Linked DNA regions of Homo sapiens: region 2 is linked to region 1. The links are contacts of gene promoters, found by promoter capture Hi-C in human tissues and cell types (Jung and others, 2019). All regions are on one chromosome and are shown on one strand. The core of a region is centred on a gene start or on the middle of the fragment in contact, and the rest is flanking DNA. Distances in the headings are between cores, read along the strand shown.

Region 1 (4,850 bases), core at 303-2,802:
AACCCAGGTCCCTCTAAGCCCCATGTGCTTCCACTGCAGAGGCCTCCAGGTGGGGAGGCAGTATTTGCATGGAGGCCTCATGCACCATGCCAGGTGGAGTCTCAGACCTCAGTCTAAGGCATTATCAGAGAGCTGCAGCCCTGGAGCCTTCAGGCCTGGCCTCCTCCATCTGGCCCCCTCTGGTCCTTCCAGCTCAGCTCAGGGCCTCAGGGAAGGTTTCTGAGTTTGATGATGCTATTAGAGATCCCCAGGGGTCTCTGCCCACCTGAGGACCTGGGAGCCAGTGACCCCTTGCTCCCAGGAGGGGCTGGCACCACAGCCCAGCTGGAGCCTGGCTGGGGTGGTGCCCCAGGAGAGGGGAAGGCGCCAGTTCTCGAGATGGGGAAACAATGGGGTATGTCTAAGCCTCCCTCTCTAGGCCGGGAGCAGTGACTTCGGCCTCTTCCTCCCCACCAACTAGGGTTCAGAATTATGGGGGAGGTACATCTATTCCTCCTCCACACAACACTCACCCCTCACTTCTCTGAAATGCATCGGGCCTAACACCAGATTGGGGGGTGGGGGTGGTGGAATAGGAGCTCAGGTCAGGGTTCTGGGTATTTACCCCAGCAGGGATCCCCTCGACACCCTCGCTGGCCCTGGCTACTCCAGAGCCGAGCCGACTTCCCTTCCCGCAGCCGGGCCTAGGATTCCCCTGGTTGAGGCTGAGCCTTCAGCGCCTGCCCTGAGAGACACACCTGCCTAGGTCGGTGCTGCCCAATCCAGAGAGGGGCCCGGCCACGCCAGGCCTGGCAGGTAGGCCCATCTGGCCAGGCAGGGCTCGGGGAGGGGCTCAAACATCCTCCTCCCAGCACCAACAATGTCGTTGCCCCAGGAAACTGCGACCCGCGCCCCTCCAGGCTGTTCCCAGCTCTATTCACAGGCTAAGATGCAGCCTGCCTGCCCGCTCCGGGATCGCAACCCCGACCCCAGACCCTGCCGCAGCCCGGAGGTTGGGGAGAAGGAGGCCTCCGAGCCCCCTCCTCCAATTCCAGCGCAGACCTCCCAGCCTAGGACCAGGAATGGCGGAGGGAACAGCCTCGTGAACATGCAACGGCTACCAGTCCGGACTTGAGGCTGGCGGGGCTTCTGAGGGGGGCTCTGTCCCGGGAAGAGACCCCACTCCCACGCAGCCCTTTCGTTCCCGGGTTCCCGAGGTTCTGGGGTGGGGGGCGGGCAGGGCAGCCAATGCGGATCAGTCCCCGCTGAAGGGCGAGGCGCGCGGCGGCCGGGGACTCTCACCTGAAATTGGGAGGCGAAGCGATGTGCAGCCCCAGGAACGGGGAGGCGGCGGGCGGGGACGCGGCCCCCCCTCCCAGGCCGCCGCTTTCTCGCTCCGCCATTCTCGGGCACAGCCCTGGCCATCCGGGCGGAGCGCGGCGCGGAGGAGGCGGCGGCTGCGAAGGAGGCGGAGGCGCGGCGAGAGGGCAGCCGCCGCCGCGGAGTTCGGGCTAGGCGGGCGCACCTGTGTCTGGCAGGGCGCGGCACAGCACCGCGCACGGCCCGCGGGACTGGCGAGAGCGCCCCGCGCGCGCCCCCGGGACCCGGCCGGGGTCTCGCGCGCCCCGCCCAGGCCCCGCCCCCACCCCGCCAGCCCCGCCCCCGGAGATGGCGCTCTCCGCGGTGCTGAAGCCACGGCCCCCGCGGCCCTGGGCTTGGTTCAGCCCCGCCCTAAATCCGACATCGACTCTCCTCCACCCCGTGGCCGGTGTGGGCTTTGTCCCTCCGGTTGGGCTTAGTGCCCGGGTATCAGATGACTAATGGCAGGACACTGGACCCCAAGGTCCAGGTTGGCCCCCCGCAGCAGAGACCAAGAAGGCAGGCGGAAAAGGAGGGTCGTGGAGGAAGGCAGAGAAAGGAGAGGATGTCAGTGGGCTCTTAAAGTGTACAGGTTTGGAGTCAGGTGGTGTGAATTCACTGGCTCCACAAGTGACTGGGCAGTGGGGCCTTGCATTAGTGACTTCAGAGCACTAAGGTTTGGTCTTCTTATCTGTGAAATGGGACAATAGCAGTCCCTCTCATGGTTGTTGTGAGAATGTAACGTAACACAAATGTGTTGCCTGAGACCCAGAAACACTCCACCTCCTGCGCTGGGATCCAGCCCTCACCCCAGTCCTGTCCCTTTACCTTGAGGGGACCCTCCCAAAGACTCTCCCTAGAGGCTGTCTTCTCTAAAGATTGACCCAAATCTCTCTTCAGCCCCAAACAGCTACTCGTGGTGAATTGAGCCCTCCAGGCTTCTCGGTCTCTCGCCAGGACCTTCCCAGCATTCTCCTTCTTAGCGCCTCAACTGCATTTCCTGCAGAGCACCCCTCTTCTGCACCCACAGACACACATTCTAAGACTTGGCGCCTTTCCCTCTCCTCCCACTGTTGACTTCTTGGGATCATTTTGGTTGTTTCTGTTCCCTCTGGCACCTCCATCCCTGCTAGGCTTTGGCCATGGCTTCTTCCTCATTGTCTCTCCCTCGAGAGGGTGTTATTCCTGGGCTTCCAGGCCTTCAAGTCCCTGAGTTTCCCGATTGAGTTATTTCAGAGTACGGACTGCCAAGGCTAGGGCCTTAGCTTTGCTGGGTCGTAGAGCCTCTGGTCAAACCTCATTGGCTTCTCTGGTCTCTCGAGAGAACCCTAGAGACCCTGTCCACAGGGCAGAAAACGTGCAGAGCAAACTGTGCCACAACTCGTGGAGTCCTATTTGCAAATCTGGACTGCCGACCAGTCATGCTGGCCCCTTTCCTTCAGTGCGGCACCTAGCAAGGAGCTGGAGGCACCTTCCGTGCAGAAGGCAACCTCCGACCACCAGCCCTGAGAATATCCCAATACCTAGAGCCAAAGGTCATGGCTGCTTCTCTTTTCCCTGTCCCTGGGGCCCAGAGGGGTGGCCACTACTTTCTCAGCTTTCGTGATCAGGCCCCTTTCACTGGGCCCTCACGGTAATCATCTGCTGCCATGGTGCCTGGCTTTTCCTCTCAGGAAAGCAGTCTTGCCATCATGGCTACTAATCGTTCCTTAGAATGTAGACCTGCCTCAGCTAGGGAACATCCTTAGCAGGTCAGGGGTGGATGTAAAGGACAACTCCCTCTTCCAGAACCTTTTGCTCAAGAGCAAAGTTATCTTAGCTCCAAAGACCAACCCAAAGCCATTATTAGAGAGAAGCCAGAAGGGCAAGAAGGAAAGGCAGGCCCAGGTCTTGGTATGAGGGAGGCCAGCAGGAGCTTCAGAGCAGAGCCAAGAATGAGACAAGTTCCCAAGGCAGGTTCCTCCCCTTTTCTCCTTCTTCACTCTGTGCAGGCCAGACTGTGATATTCTTGGGCCTTGCCTGGGCCCCTTCCCAGAAAGTTGGGGTGTGAGCTAATAAAGCTTTCAGTCCAAGGCTAGCATCCCCTAGCATGGAAGCAGGGCACACTGCACAGAGAGGGGCCATTCTCTGGCCAGGAGACAAAGCCAGCATCCAGGCGCCCTAGGCTTGGCTGTGGGCAGATCTCAACCACCTAGTCACAGCCAGAGAGCCTGCATCCCCTCCTCACCACAGGCTGCAGCTTAAGTGGCTGCATTGAATTAAAGGATGGATTGAGGGCGTGGAGCAGGCCCTGCACTGACTGACCCCCAGCCTGGGAGGGGGTTTAAGTGGGCTGCAAGGCTGGGTGGCACTGCAGGATGGCACTTAGGACCCTCACTCTGGGCCAGAGTGCTCTGTACTATTTTGGCCAATTGACCCCCAACTCTTGACCAAGCTCTGGACCAACTCTTGACCAAGCTGCTCCAGTCTGCTCTGGCTGCTCCCCCTTCCTAAGGAGGAATAGGAGGCTCCTGACTCCCACAGAACCAAGATGGGGTGGCCGACAGCTTCATTCAGGCTCAGGCTTACCAAAACCCTGGTTCCCAGGCCTCCCACAAGATTGACGACAGCACAAACTTACTCAAGACAGGTCAGACATTTATAAAACAAGTGAATATTCACAAACAAATTGTGGGAGAAACACACCTTCCCAGCAATAGAAAATCTCTATAAAGTGCATTTTGCCTGCAACCATCTCTTCCCCATGCTGGCCCTTGGGTCAGGATTTGAGGCACTGTTCCGAGGGAGCCCTCAGGGCCACCTGAGCTGGGAGAAGGGAGGCATGAAGCCACCATGGAGCTCCAGGCTACTGGACATACCCTCTCTACCCTGCCCTTCCCTCTTGGCTCCAGGAGTGCACTGCCTGACTCCACTGGCAGGTTGATCTGGGAACGGGCTGACATGCTAGGGATGGTGGAGAAGTAGGCGGAGGTGGTCCTGCCAACCTGTACCTTAGGGAAGAGAGCCAGCAGCAGACAGGCAGGAAAAGGAATCATCCTGCTACCCGAAGGCGCTGCTAGTGAATACTAAATCTGGGCCTCGGCCTTTGGCCTTCCCACTCTCAGATTTGCCCTTCCAGGTTTGCTTGACTCTCTTTCTGGCAGTGGCCCGATTCTCTTTCCTCTCGACTGGGGCTGAGGGAACAGGGAAGCCCCCAACCCAATGCTCTGAATGCACACCATCCCCTGTGCCCTGCTCCCCTCCCACGATGATGGGACATTTCTAGTGAAGGTGACATACGTACAACAGTTGGACTCTAAAGGCAGCTCTCTGGCTGAGAAAACCTGAGGATATCTCAGGAAGAAGCCTGTCAGTGTGATGGACAGCTACAGGAGATGGGTCTGACCCCAGGGTTCTGGTCCAAGGACAGAGGACAGTGAGGGACAGGGCTGGGGCCAAAAGAATTAACAGATCTGAGGCTAGGAAAGGTCACAGGGGAGGTAGAAAGGAAAAGGCCCAAAGGCCAGCTTAAT
Region 2 (4,896 bases), core at 2,177-4,676, 620 kb before region 1:
AGAAGACAGAAGTCCTGGTGAAGATACCTGTGGATACCTTCTTTAATCATCTGAGGCTTACCATCTCCTGGCATCTTTTCTCATCTGTAAAACATGATGGTAGATAATTGCTCAGGTCCCTTTCATGTCTTCCATTTTGCGTATGGATGGTGATCAAGGAAAAGCTATGAATGAGCACAGCTCTGTGTAAAGAGCACCCTGAGGAGCTAAAAGTGTACCTTCAGAAGCTAGAAGGAAAGGCCCAGTGTTTCTCTTGGGGAGGGGCAGCTTTTCCTCAGAAGATGTCTGGTTAAGCTGCCTGTTTGCCTTATCTCAGAACAGAAACACTGGTGATAGTCTGATAAGTATATTCTGCAGTGCAAACCTCCTGGTGAGTTGAGTTAAATGCCCTTTAATTTTCATGTCTCCAGAGTTCACCTCAGCAGGGAGATGCCATGGGAGAGCTGGATTAACTGCCTTTCATAGTATTCCCCACATTAGTGCTAGTTTGTGTTTGTCCATCTCTGTCTCTCTCAGATTATCTCCTGCTGCATACTACGCCCAGAGGATGATCCAGTATCTCTCACGGAGAGACAGTATTCGCCAGCGCTCCATGCGCTACCAACAGAACCGTCTCCGTTCTTCCACCTCCTCCTCTTCCTCAGACAACCAGGGTCCATCAGTAGAGGGAACCGACTTGGAATTTGAGGACTTTGAGTAAGTACATACTCAGCTTGCTTTCTTCCCTCTCCTCTCAAGCTTGGAGTGCTTCCAAGTTGGCCACTGTTGGAGCTACAATGGTGGATGTTCTTGCTCCCAACTCCTCAATTATTATTTATGAGTAGCAGGATGGGGTGAGGGACAGAGGGTTAAGATGCCCAGAGCACTCCCACCTCTGGCAGTTGCTTTGCTGATTCACTGGCGCGCGAGGACAGAGACCTCCCATTGGGCCCCAGGCCAGATTGCGAGAGGATGGTGGCTGTTGCTCCTCGGGCAACATTTTTATTTCCCTTTTGCATGTCCAGTGACCGTGGAAAGCTTCTCATGGACTGTCTTTACCACATCAGGGAGGCTGGAGGGTTGGTGTTTTTTCTCCTAAGCAGAGTAGCTGTGGAGATGTTGTCTTCGTTCTGAAATACTTGGATTTCCCTAAGAGGCGGATTTTCTATCTTAGTGCCCTGATCAGACTGACTCTTTAAGATCCTACTCCATTGCCTAAACTTTTTTGGTCTCCCTACTCTTACCCCCCATTCAGGAACCTTAAAAAGTTGTCTGTCAAATTAATGTGGTGGGTTGAGAAATGATTTCTTGCTTCTTTGGGCTTTTTTGAGTGGTCAGCGGGGAGAGCCATGGGAGGATGCGCTAAAGGAGCAGGGTCAGCCCCAGGCTCTAGAATTTAAGCTAGCCAATCTTTTTTTTTTTTTTTTTTGAGACGGAGTCTCGCTCTTTCGCTCAGGCTGGAGTGCAGTGGCGCTATCTCGGCTCACTGCAAGCTCCGCCTCCCGAGTTCACGCCATTCTCCTGCCTCAGCCTCCTGAGTAGCTGGGACTACAGGCGCCCGCCACCGCGCCTGGCTAATTTTTTGTATTTTTAGTAGAGATGGGGTTTCACCATGTTAGCCAGGGTGGTCTTGATCTCCTGACCTCGTGATCTGCCCGCCTTGGCCTCCCAAAGTGCTGGGATTACAGGCGTGACCCACCGTGCCAAGCCTTTTTTTTTTTTTTTTTTTTTGAGACGGAGTCTTGCTGTGTTGCCTAGGCTGCAGTGCAGTGGCACAATCTCGGCTCACTGCAAGCTCCGCCTCCCAGGTTCATGCCATTCTCTTGCCTCAGCCTCCGGAGTAGCTGGGACTACAGGCGCCTGCCACCACGCCCGGCTAATTTTTTTTTTTTTTTTTTGTATTTTTAGTAGAGATGGGGTTTCACTTTGTTAGCCAGGATGGTCTCCATCTCTTGACCTTGTGATCCGCCTGCCTTGGCCTCCCAAAGTGCTGGGATAATAGGTGTGAGCAACCACGCCCAGCCTAAGCTAGCCAATCTTATTGCTGGGTTTTGCATTCTCTCATCTGCTGCTTCTGACCTTTCTAGCCATTCATTGTGTTTCTTTCCATCCTGAAACTGAGCTTTTATGGCCTGTATCAAATTGAACATTTGGCTCATTTTGATTCCTTATATTTTGGTATTGTCAAACATAAAAGCAAGAGAGAGAGAAGGGCGGTTAAGCATTATTTCTTCCTCCTTCTTCACTGGCATTTGTGAAAGAGGACAGCCTGTCAGTCATTTCCTCCCCACCTTCCATCTTGACATAGCCGGGTCAGGTCTGGGGCCTTAAGAGTTCTCATCTCCCCCTCAGCTTTCTTCCTTAACTGAATGGCTAGTTCCTCACAAGTCATCTTGCAACAAAGCTTTTTAGTGTGTTTAAGAAATCTCTTTGCCAGAAAGGACTAGGAAAGTGAGAACAACCTTTGTACCAATTTGCCTTCCTGATGCTGTCATTAAACACACTACTAGCATTTGTGCTCTTAGAAGCAAAAGGAAAACTAAGTGGGAGGTTTATTTGTCTGAGAAAGATGTAAATGTGAAAGAAATGCAGGGATGGCCTGAAGTAGCAGTGGTGTGGCAAATGGAGCAGAGGTCATGGTTCTCTCTTGTCAACTGCAGGAGAAGAGCAGAGCTACCTTCTGACTGTCAGCTTGTTCCTTCTCCCTTCTGTCCACTCTAGGGTGAGGTGGATGCGTATATCAGCAGTGAAGGAAATGGAGTGTTTGTTCCCTTAGCCAGGCAGATACTTACAGTGAAATATGTTCTCCTGTAGATACGGTTTTTCCAGCACCAGGGTCTATTCAGGGAAGCAGTTGAAACATACATGCCAAGGCTGCTGGCACTTAGTGCTGCTGAAAAGCCTGGGTGACTTTCTCTCACTAATGCTGTGGAGCCCTGGGAGTCAGTGTTGTGGATTGCCTAGCCCTCTTTCCATGCACGCCTGGGAGACTGCGTTATCTTTTTGCAGTGGTGAAATGTGGGGCTCATGCCTTCAAGCTGTATCTTGCCTCGTGACTTGTCCTTCACAAGGGAGTTCTGGGTTAGTTTAAAATGTTCTGTTCTTGTCTTACCTTCCCTTTCTCCTGCTACCACCTCCTCTCTCTCTCCCCTTCCTTCCCCCTCGATTTTCCTGTGTCAGACTGCCTCCTCCTTATGCTCCCCCCAGCCCACCTGTGCGCTCTCCCCCACCCCCTCCCCTGGCTTTAGCATGACCTGAATTTACATTTCCTTCTTCACCTTTCATGCACTGACTTACTGTTTTTTCTCAGGGGGTCTTATATTGCTCCCTGGTTAGTAACAATGGACTGATTTCTCTCATACTCCTTGGAAAGTCCCTTCTGGGGTGTTTGCCTTTCTTTTTGGGCTGATGTAGACTAGAATCTTGTTTTTAATAGCAGCTGTGGATTAGTCACCTCAACATTAGTAGTCCAGGTCTTCTAGTAAAGGATGTTACTGGCTGGTTGAAACTGACTGTTTATTCTTTCTCTGTCTCCTTCCCTGCCCACCTCCCTCTACAGTAAACTGAATGCTGCTTGTGGTTGCTCCTGTCCTCTGAGTGTCCACGTGCTCTGTGAGGAGGGAGAATAACAAAGAAGGAATGTACCAGCACATTTTAATTTTTCTGCCCCAATCTTTTGCCTTAGCTTTGGTAACTAGAAGGAAAGTCAGAGGCATGTGCAGTCACGATTTATATTTTTTTCAGGTACAGAGAGACATGTAAGGTAGATATGGCGAGTAATCCTCCTAACAATTAGGTTACCATTAAGACAGTTGTTCCTTTGTTTGGTATCCTCACCTTCTCAGCACTTCATGCTCTTGCCTTTGCTACCTCACTTTGATGACCTCTCCCTCTGTTTGCTAAGTCATAGATCATTTTGCCATTTTTGGGCTTGTCACATCCAGTTGTATAGTGTTCTCAGAAAACCAAGGGAGCCATTACTCAGAGCCCATCTTTTGTGGTTCTCTTCCATTTGACCAAATCAGATATGTCTAAGGTTAGAGGACAGGAGCAAGCATATTTAGTGTCTGAGTTTTATTGTCCTGCTGATTTAAAAACCTTTGAAAATGATGTACCACCATTTTTGAGCCTTTCCAAGAGCTTGCTGTGGAGCAAGACCATTGAGATTTATCTCTTGGGAGGGTGGCTTTGGAGGTTGGTCAGCATCAGGTTAAATTTTCTGTTCTTTTGTGATCTAGATGAATGACCATCTTCCTGGGCAGGCTTCCTCTCCTGCCATTCATCTCTGTCTACAGCAAGGATTGAGACTGCAGGGTCCTTGTGTTTATCAAACTGCACAAACAGGACATCCAGAAACCTGCTGTCAGCAGGTCTCTCCTGAAGCTCTCAGCAGCTGCCTTTGCATAAAGATGTTCATAAGCAGGGTAAAGGTGTGGCTGCCCATGACATTGCTGTCTGTCTGCTTTCAAGCCCAGACCACCTACTAGAATGGAGATGGCAAATAAGCGTAAGGCAGACTTCCATTTTCATGTTTGCCATCCCTTTGGAAAGAGGGAGGGGGCTTTTATAAAGCCCAGGTTAAGTGCTATGGCCCGTAGTTGCTAAGGCCTACAAAAGAGGTGGTGTGTATGCTTTATGACAATTATTCCAGCTATGCTTGCCCCCTTACTCATTTTATCTGTTAATCTAAATGTAATTATAATTCCAGAATCCTCCCTAGCCCATATTCCTGCCCTTCCTGCCTCTTTTTATAGCTGCTTTGCTTTCTGAGGCAAAGGGATACTGTAGCAAAGGCTTTGCTAATGACAGTCAGACTAGAGAAGCTTCAGATTAGATCAGTCGCAAATATCTGCATCGTATATACTAGCCACTGGATAATTACATTCAGCTTCTTGAAAACTGTTGCTAGAGCCGGGT

What was found. Contacts are between HindIII fragments. The study calls those that stand out against the background at their distance.
Region 2: a contact is called between a fragment that was not itself captured here and the fragment with the promoter of MAPK8IP1 in region 1, in 1 of the 25 tissues and cell types used here (spleen).

The regions. Positions count from the first base shown.
Region 1 is chr11:45,882,353-45,887,202 of GRCh38, reverse strand. It overlaps MAPK8IP1 (mitogen-activated protein kinase 8 interacting protein 1), which reads right to left and starts at 1,552. Exons shown (of 12, transcript NM_005456.4): 1 at 1,282-1,552. The coding sequence starts at 1,382. It overlaps CRY2 (cryptochrome circadian regulator 2), which reads right to left. Exons shown (of 12, transcript NM_021117.5): 12 at 3,959-4,850. RefSeq lists a silencer at 1,291-1,690. The HindIII fragment of the contact is 16,221 bases long and covers 1-4,850 here.
Region 2 is chr11:46,503,991-46,508,886 of GRCh38, reverse strand. AMBRA1 (autophagy and beclin 1 regulator 1) reads left to right here. Exons shown (of 18, transcript NM_001387011.1): 9 at 517-696. Among named protein-coding and RNA genes, the nearest start is that of MIR3160-1, 55 kb to the right of the region's middle. The HindIII fragment of the contact is 3,452 bases long and covers 1,701-4,896 here.